Linked DNA regions of Homo sapiens: region 2 is linked to region 1. Evidence: promoter capture Hi-C in human tissues and cell types (Jung and others, 2019). All regions are on one chromosome and are shown on one strand. The core of a region is centred on a gene start or on the middle of the fragment in contact, and the rest is flanking DNA. Distances in the headings are between cores, read along the strand shown. Region 1 overlaps ZGPAT (zinc finger CCCH-type and G-patch domain containing). Region 2 holds the start of SRMS (src-related kinase lacking C-terminal regulatory tyrosine and N-terminal myristylation sites).

What was found. Contacts are between HindIII fragments. The study calls those that stand out against the background at their distance.
Region 2: a contact is called between the fragment with the promoter of SRMS here and a fragment that was not itself captured in region 1, in 1 of the 25 tissues and cell types used here (lymphoblastoid cells).

The regions. Positions count from the first base shown.
Region 1 is chr20:63,721,494-63,724,963 of GRCh38, forward strand. All of the region lies in intron 2 of ZGPAT (zinc finger CCCH-type and G-patch domain containing), which reads left to right. Among named protein-coding and RNA genes, the nearest start is that of LIME1, 13 kb to the right of the region's middle. The HindIII fragment of the contact is 9,604 bases long and covers 1-3,470 here.
Region 2 is chr20:63,545,960-63,549,429 of GRCh38, forward strand. SRMS (src-related kinase lacking C-terminal regulatory tyrosine and N-terminal myristylation sites) reads right to left here and starts at 1,790. Exons shown (of 8, transcript NM_080823.4): 1 at 1,149-1,790. The coding sequence starts at 1,504. RefSeq lists an enhancer at 863-1,504. The HindIII fragment of the contact is 18,378 bases long and covers 1,359-3,470 here.

The DNA of each region.
Region 1 (3,470 bases), core at 704-3,203:
GATGAACCAGAGGTGAAAGTTGAGGGCCTCCTCAGGTGTTTCTGAGCCCCTGTCTAGCCCCAGCTGTGTGCATGGCCTTCTGGATTTCCAAGCATGAACAGGAGCTTTCCAAAGCCCTTAGACCTTCATGTAGCTCTTTTCCCAGCCTCTTCCTTCCTAGGCTTTTCTGTCAGCTCTTTGCCCATCTGTTGTTGTCCCTCCCCCACAACTTCAGGTAGTATCTACCTGTAAATGCCTTCAGGCCAGGCGCGGTGGCTCATACCTGTTATCCCAGCACTTTGGGAGGCCGAGGCGGGTGAATTGCTTGAGGTCAGGAGTTCGAGACCAGCCTGGCCAACATGGTGAAGCCCCGTCTCTAGTAAAAATACAAAAATTAGCTGGGCGTGGTGGGTGCCTGTAATCTCAGCTACTCGGGAGGCTGAAGCAGGAGAATTGCTTGAGCCTGGGAGGCGGAGGTTGCAGTGAGCTGAGATCGTGCCATTGCACTCCAGCCTGGGCGACAGAGTGAGACTCCATCTCGGGGAAAAAAAAAAAAAAAAAATGCCATCAACAGCACGACCCTGGAGGCTGCCCCAGCCCTGAGAGAGTTCGAGGGGGTGAAACAAAGGCAAGCCCTTCAGGGAGACACTAGAAAGATCCAAATGCATAAGCAGGATTCCTTGAGAAAAGGTCTGTATCATCCCTTCTGACACCAGCAAGCCACATCAGAAATACAGGTTGCCTTCCCCATGGCTACATGTGAGCTGGTAGTAGTGGCTGAGCAGAAATAGCCCAGCTGTCCTCCTGAAATTTAGCAGGGTCTTACTTCATTGAGCAGTCATCTGGTTCGTAGACACCAGAGTTACAGAAAAGTTTATTGGGAGGTTTTGACAGTTTAATAGAAAAAAGTTTATTGTGACAGTTTTGACAGCTGAATAGAAAAAAGTTTATTGTGACAGTTTTGACAGCAGAATAGTTGCTTTGCTGGAGAGACGGATCTTTGGAGCTGCCAACTCCATCATTTTGGTGATATCCAGCTCTGTTGCTGAATTTTTAGCTATGCTGTTTTAAGTTATTTTCTTAGTGGTTGCTCTAGAGATGACAATGTACATCTTTAACTTACCACAATGTACTTCAGATTATTACTAACTTAACACTTAAAGTACAGCATTTTTTTTTTTATGGAGTTTCACTCTGTCACCCAGGCTGGAGTGCAATGGTGTGATCTCGGCTCACTGCAACCTCCGCCTCCCAGGTTCACGCCATTCTCCTGCCTCAGCCTCCTGAGTAGCTGGGACTACAGGCACCCCCACCACACCCGGCTAATTTTGTATTTTTAGTAGAGATGAGGTTTCACCATGTTGGTCAGGCTGGTCTCGAACTGCTGACCTCAGGTGATCCGCCCATCTTGGCCTCCCAAAGTGCTGGGATTACAGGTGTGAGCGACTGCACTGAGCCTAAGTATGGCAACGTGTCTATAACATAGATCTACTTCCGTTGTACTATGACATAGTTCCCCCTCCATTTTCCTATAGCACAGTCCCAACCTCCCTTTTCCTCTGACATAGTTCCATCCTCCCTCCTCCTATGACGTCCTCCCTTCTCCTCTGGCATAGCTCCATCCTCCCTTCTCCTATGACACAGCTCCATCCTCCCTTCTCCTCTGACATAGCTCCATCCTCCCTTCTCCTATGACACAGCTCCATCCTCCCTTCTCCTCTGACATAGCTCCATCCTCCCTTCTCCTGTGTCATAGCTCCATCCTCCCTTCTCCTCTGACACAGCTCCATCCTCCCTTCTCCTCTGGCATAGCTCCATCCTCCCTTCTCCTATGACACAGCTCCATCCTCCCTTCTCCTATGACACAGCTCCATCCTCCCTTCTCCTATGACACAGCTCCATCCTCCCTTCTCCTATGACACAGCTCCATCCTCCCTTCTCCTATGACACAGCTCCATCCTCCCTTCTCCTCTGGCATAGCTCCATCCTCCCTTCTCCTCTGACATAGCTCCATCCTCCCTTCTCCTCTGACATAGCTCCATCCTCCCTTCTCCTCTGACATAGCTCCATCCTCCCTTCTCCTCTGACATAGCTCCATCCTCCCTTCTCCTCTGACATAGCTCCATCCTCCCTTCTCCTCTGACATAGTTCCATCCTCCCTTGTCCTCTGACATAGCTCCATCCTCCCTTCTCCTCTGACATAGCTCCATCCCCTCTTCTCCTTCATGTATTATTGCCATATATACATTTATGTATGTTATAACTTCAGCTCTTCAGCGTTATAATTATTGCTTCAAAAGTATTTTGAAAGAAGTTGCCTGGAGGCAGTGGCTTATGCCTTTAACTCCAGCACTTTTGGGGGCTGAGGTGGGCAGATCGCCTGAGCCAGGGAGTTGGAGACCAGCCTGGGCAACATGACGAAACCCATCTCCACCAAAATTACAAAAAATTAGTCTGGCATGGTGGCACGCGCCTGTAGTCCCAGCTATTTGGGGGAGGATCCCAGCTAAGGTGGGAGGATCACTTGAGCCTGGGAAGTCAAGGCTGCAGTGAGCTGAGATTGTGCCACTGCACTCCAGCCTGGGTGCAGATCTTATCTCAGAAGTAAAGGGACTAGGAATGGTGGCTTTTATCTCTAATCCCAGCACTTTGGGAGGCTGAGGTGAGTGGATCACCGGAGGTCAGGAGTTTAAGACCAGCCTGGCCAACATGGTGAAACCCCGTCTCTACTAAAAATACAAAAAGTAGCCGGGTGTGGTGGTGGGTGTCTGTAATCCCAGCTACTCGGGAGGCTGAGGCAAGAGAATCGCTTGAACCTGGGAAGCGGAGGTTGCAGTGAGCAAGATCGCACCACTGCATTACAGCCTAGATGACAGAGCGAGACTCTGCCTAAAAAAAAAAAAAAAAAGAAAAGAAAAGAAATTAAGATCTGGACACTGTGGTTCATGCCTGTAATCCCAAAGCCTTGGGAGGCCAAGGCAGGAGGATCACTTGAGGCCAGGAGTTCAACACCAGCCTGGGCAACATAGCGAGACTCCATCTCTATTTAAAAAAGAAAGAAATTCAAAGAGAAAAAAAGTATACTTGTTTTTTTGTATCATCCATATTTTACCTTTCTTTTTTTTGCCCCTTTTTCTTTCCTGTGAATTTGAGTTACTGTCTAGTGTCATTTCCTTTTAGTCTGAAGAACTTCATTTAGAATTTTTTTTTTTTTTTTTTGAGACAAAGTCTCACTGTGTTGCCCAGGCTGGAGTGCAATGGTGCAGTCTCAGATCACTGCAACCTCTGCCTCCCTGGTTAGAGTGATTTTCCTGCCTCAGCCTCCCAAGTAGCTGAGACTGCAGGCACCTGCCACCACCCCCAGCCAATTTTTTTGGTATTTTTAGTAGAGACAGGGTTTCACTATGTTGGCCAGGCTGGTCTCGAATTCATGACCTCATGATCTGCCTGTCCTGGCCTCCCAAAATGCTGGGATTACCATGAGCCACCAC
Region 2 (3,470 bases), core at 540-3,039, 180 kb before region 1:
TGAGATGCAGAGGATGTGTCTGAGGTCTCTCCCTGGGGCGTGGGGCCAGGTGTCTGGAGCTAATGACACCTGAGTGTGGTTAGTCTTTTAATCTCCAGCCTAGGCAAATAGTCATTAGCTTTGCCTATGGACCGCCCTGCTCCACCACGAGCCCTGCCCTCCAGGAACTGCTGAAGGGGTCTGTCCTCCACACCTGGGGTGACTGTGAGCCCCTTCCCATCACAAAGGCTGCTTGCCCCCCAACCACTGCTCAGGACAAGCGGGGCAGGTGTGGGGTGAGGGCCTGGGGCCCCTCAGAAGGCCCCTTCCTGTGACTCCGGCTTCACCCGCCCATGCAACCCCCAGGACGATGTGTGAGTGCCAAAGGGCCCCCAGGAGGCTGGAAGTGGCCCTGAGCAAGGCTGACCCCGAAGGTCTCCAGGGCTCAGGCCTTGCCCAGCTGGATGCCAGACCAAGGCAGCCGCTCAGAGCAGCCGCACTGGGCATCTGGACTAGGCGCCTCTGCAACCCCTGCTCACCTGCCCTCACCCAGAGCTCCTGGAGCGTGGGCCCCTGTCTCAGCCCCCAGTCCCAGCCCCTGCTCACCTGCCTTCACCCAGAGCTCCTGGAGCGTGGGCCCGTCTCAGCCCCCAGCCCCTGCTCACCTGCCCTCACCCAGAGTTCCTGGAGCATGGGCCCCTGTCTCAGCCCCCAGCCCCCAGCCCCTGCTCACCTGCCGTCACCCAGAGCTCCTGGAGCTCCTGTCATCTGGTGCCTCCCAGCCCCCAGCCCCTGCCCTCCAAGCAGTGACCGATCCATGAACACTGGACTCCCTGTGTGAGGGCGGGAGGGCCTGGCCAGCCAGGCAGGGTCCTGGAGGAACCGCCTGCTGGGTGTCCAGCTGGTGCAGCTGATGCTCCCCCCCACAGGACCTGACCACGCCTGCCGGAGCCTCCTCTCCCTCTCGGCAGCCCACAGCGGACACTGCTGTTTTCCTACCACACCTGCCGGCCCGGGGCCCATCAGCTGTCCCTGAATGAATGCGTGGATGAACGAATGAATGAACAGATAGCCACGGACATGCGATTTCCAACTCAAAATCCTGCCGTTGTTCTGGACTCCCCAGCTGGGGGCGAGGCAGGCTCTGACTCCGAGGCCGAGGTACTCACGGTTGGTCTGAGAGCGTCTCAGGAGAAGCCTTGGCCACGTGGGTGATGGGCACGAGCCCGGCGCTGGGCTGGCCCGAAAGCCTGCGTGCGAAGATGTAGCCGCCCCCCTCTTCGAGGGCACAGAGCCTGTCCCCGCGGCGGACACTCAGCTCCCCGCCACACCGCGCCGTGAAGTCATAGAGCGCAAGGAAGAGCTGAGGGAAGGGGCTGCAAGGCTCGGCGGGGAGCGTGGGCACTGGGTCAGTGTTGGGGTCCAGGGACCCGGGGGTGCCATGGTCCGGCTCGCCGCCCGCCGGCCAGATCTTGTCCCAGAAGAAGGACAGGAAGGCCAGCCGCCTCCTGAGGAACGGCTCCATCCCCCGGGGTCACCACGCTGGGCCCGAGGGCCATGGGAGCCCGCGAGCCCGGAAGAGGAACTGGCAGGGCCGGTGGGACCCGGTGTCCAGCGCTCCCTGCCCTGGCCGTGGGGTGACAGGGGACCCCGGCCCTGCGGTCACTCAGAGGTCCCCTGGATCCAGGAGGCACACGGTTCCCACCGGCGTCCGGGCTGGCGTTGGGGCTGGGTGGGGCGCAGGGCGGACCCCCTGCCTCAGGCACACCGACAGCACCTCCTGTCCTCGACCTCCTTGGCGTCTGGAGTGCACCGTCCCCTCCCCAACCCGACGGCAGAGGGCAGCTTGGGCTGGGGCGGGGGCGGGCTCCAGGAGGGGCCCGAGGAGGGCGGGGTGGGCAGGGCCAGCCTCTCTCCCGCCCTCTGCAAGGCCCAGGCAGGCGGAATGGCTCTGCCCAGTCAGGCCTGGCCCATGCCCAAGGGCACCACAGTCCAACAGCCGCCCGTGCCCACGGAGAAGTGGGGGTTCCACGGAGAAGCGCTGCTGTTCAGCACCTGCAGTGGTTGCCAAGCCTGAGCTGCACTCAGGTGAAAAATTGCCTGCTTATTTAAGTGTTGGCCAGATATTTTAACATCATTAACCCTGCACCAGGTGCCGAGCCTCCGGCCTCTGCAGTAAATTCTGAGGACAGGCGAGTGAGGGGGCTCTCAGCACCCCGGCTTTCATGCAGTAAAACGAGATGCTGATTGCAGGGAGCTCGGCCGCAGGCCAGGCACCCAGATGCCCCATGCTGCCCGATGACCGGCTTCTGAGTCAGTCAATGCCCAGGCCATACCCAAAGGCCACTGCGGGGAAGTGGAGGCTGCGGACGCCTGGCCCCAGTTCAGGGGGATGAGCACACGGAGAAGGGGCGGCGGGTGAGTCCCTGGCTGGGGACCTCCCACCCTCTCCCTGGACAGCGCCAAGCCCCCGCATGCTGAAGCAAACTCTGCCCGCTCAGGTAGGTCCCCAGATCGGGGCAGGACTGGGGGAGCAAATCCCAGCAAAACCCAGCAGCACGGTACAGGGTCCTGAGGCAGGAGGATGGGGTGGTGGCCATCTGCAGTCTCTCTCTCCTCCCACATCCCCTCCGGGTCCTGAGTGGGGTGGGGTGGGGGCCATCTGCAGTCTCTCACTCCTCCCACCTCCCCTCTGGGTCCTGAGGCACGGGGGTGGGGTGAGGCCATCTGCAGTCTCTCACTCCTCCTGCCGGCCTCCCCCAGCAGCCCCTTCCGCACCTGGGTGGCCTTCAGGGAGCCTCACGCCCCTTTCCCACATCTCACACGCATCCATGCCCCCACTTCATGCGTGTGGCTGAATGCATCCCTCCAATAGGCGTGACCAGTGTCCAGCCAATGACAAGCCCCTCGCACCTGCCTGCCCTGGAGTCACAGATGGGCTTCTCAGAAACCTCACGTCTGGGGACTGGTGTGTGCATTGTGGGGTGGCAGTGACACCCGTGGCCTGGCTCTCAGGGCACCCCAGCAGCCAAGCTGTGTCCGGGCTGATAGCCTGGAGCCAGCAGGGGCCCTGGGAGACTGGACATCGCCAGGCTCAGGGCAGGCTCTGCACCAGAGAGGTGCCCTGCTGGGGGTGGTGGGGGGTGTTGAGAAATGTGGAGAATTGTAAATACTACATTGGGGGTGGCCTTCGAGGGGCCCCAGCGCCTTCTCCTCCCGCGCTTCCCCCCGCCGCCCTCTCCTCCCGCCCCCGCCGCCCTCTCCTCCCCCCACCCGCTGCCCGTCTCCTCCCGCCCCCGACGCCGTCTCCTCCCCACAACCCACCCCCGCCGTCTCCTCCCCTCCACTCCCCCCGCCGCCGTCTCCTCCCCACACCCACCGCCGTCTCCTCACGTGCAGGTGAGGCTTTTGCCCACCATTTCTTTTCTTTACTTTTTTTTTGGAAACAGGGTCTCACTCTGTCGCCCAGGCTGGAGTGCAGTGGCAGCCTC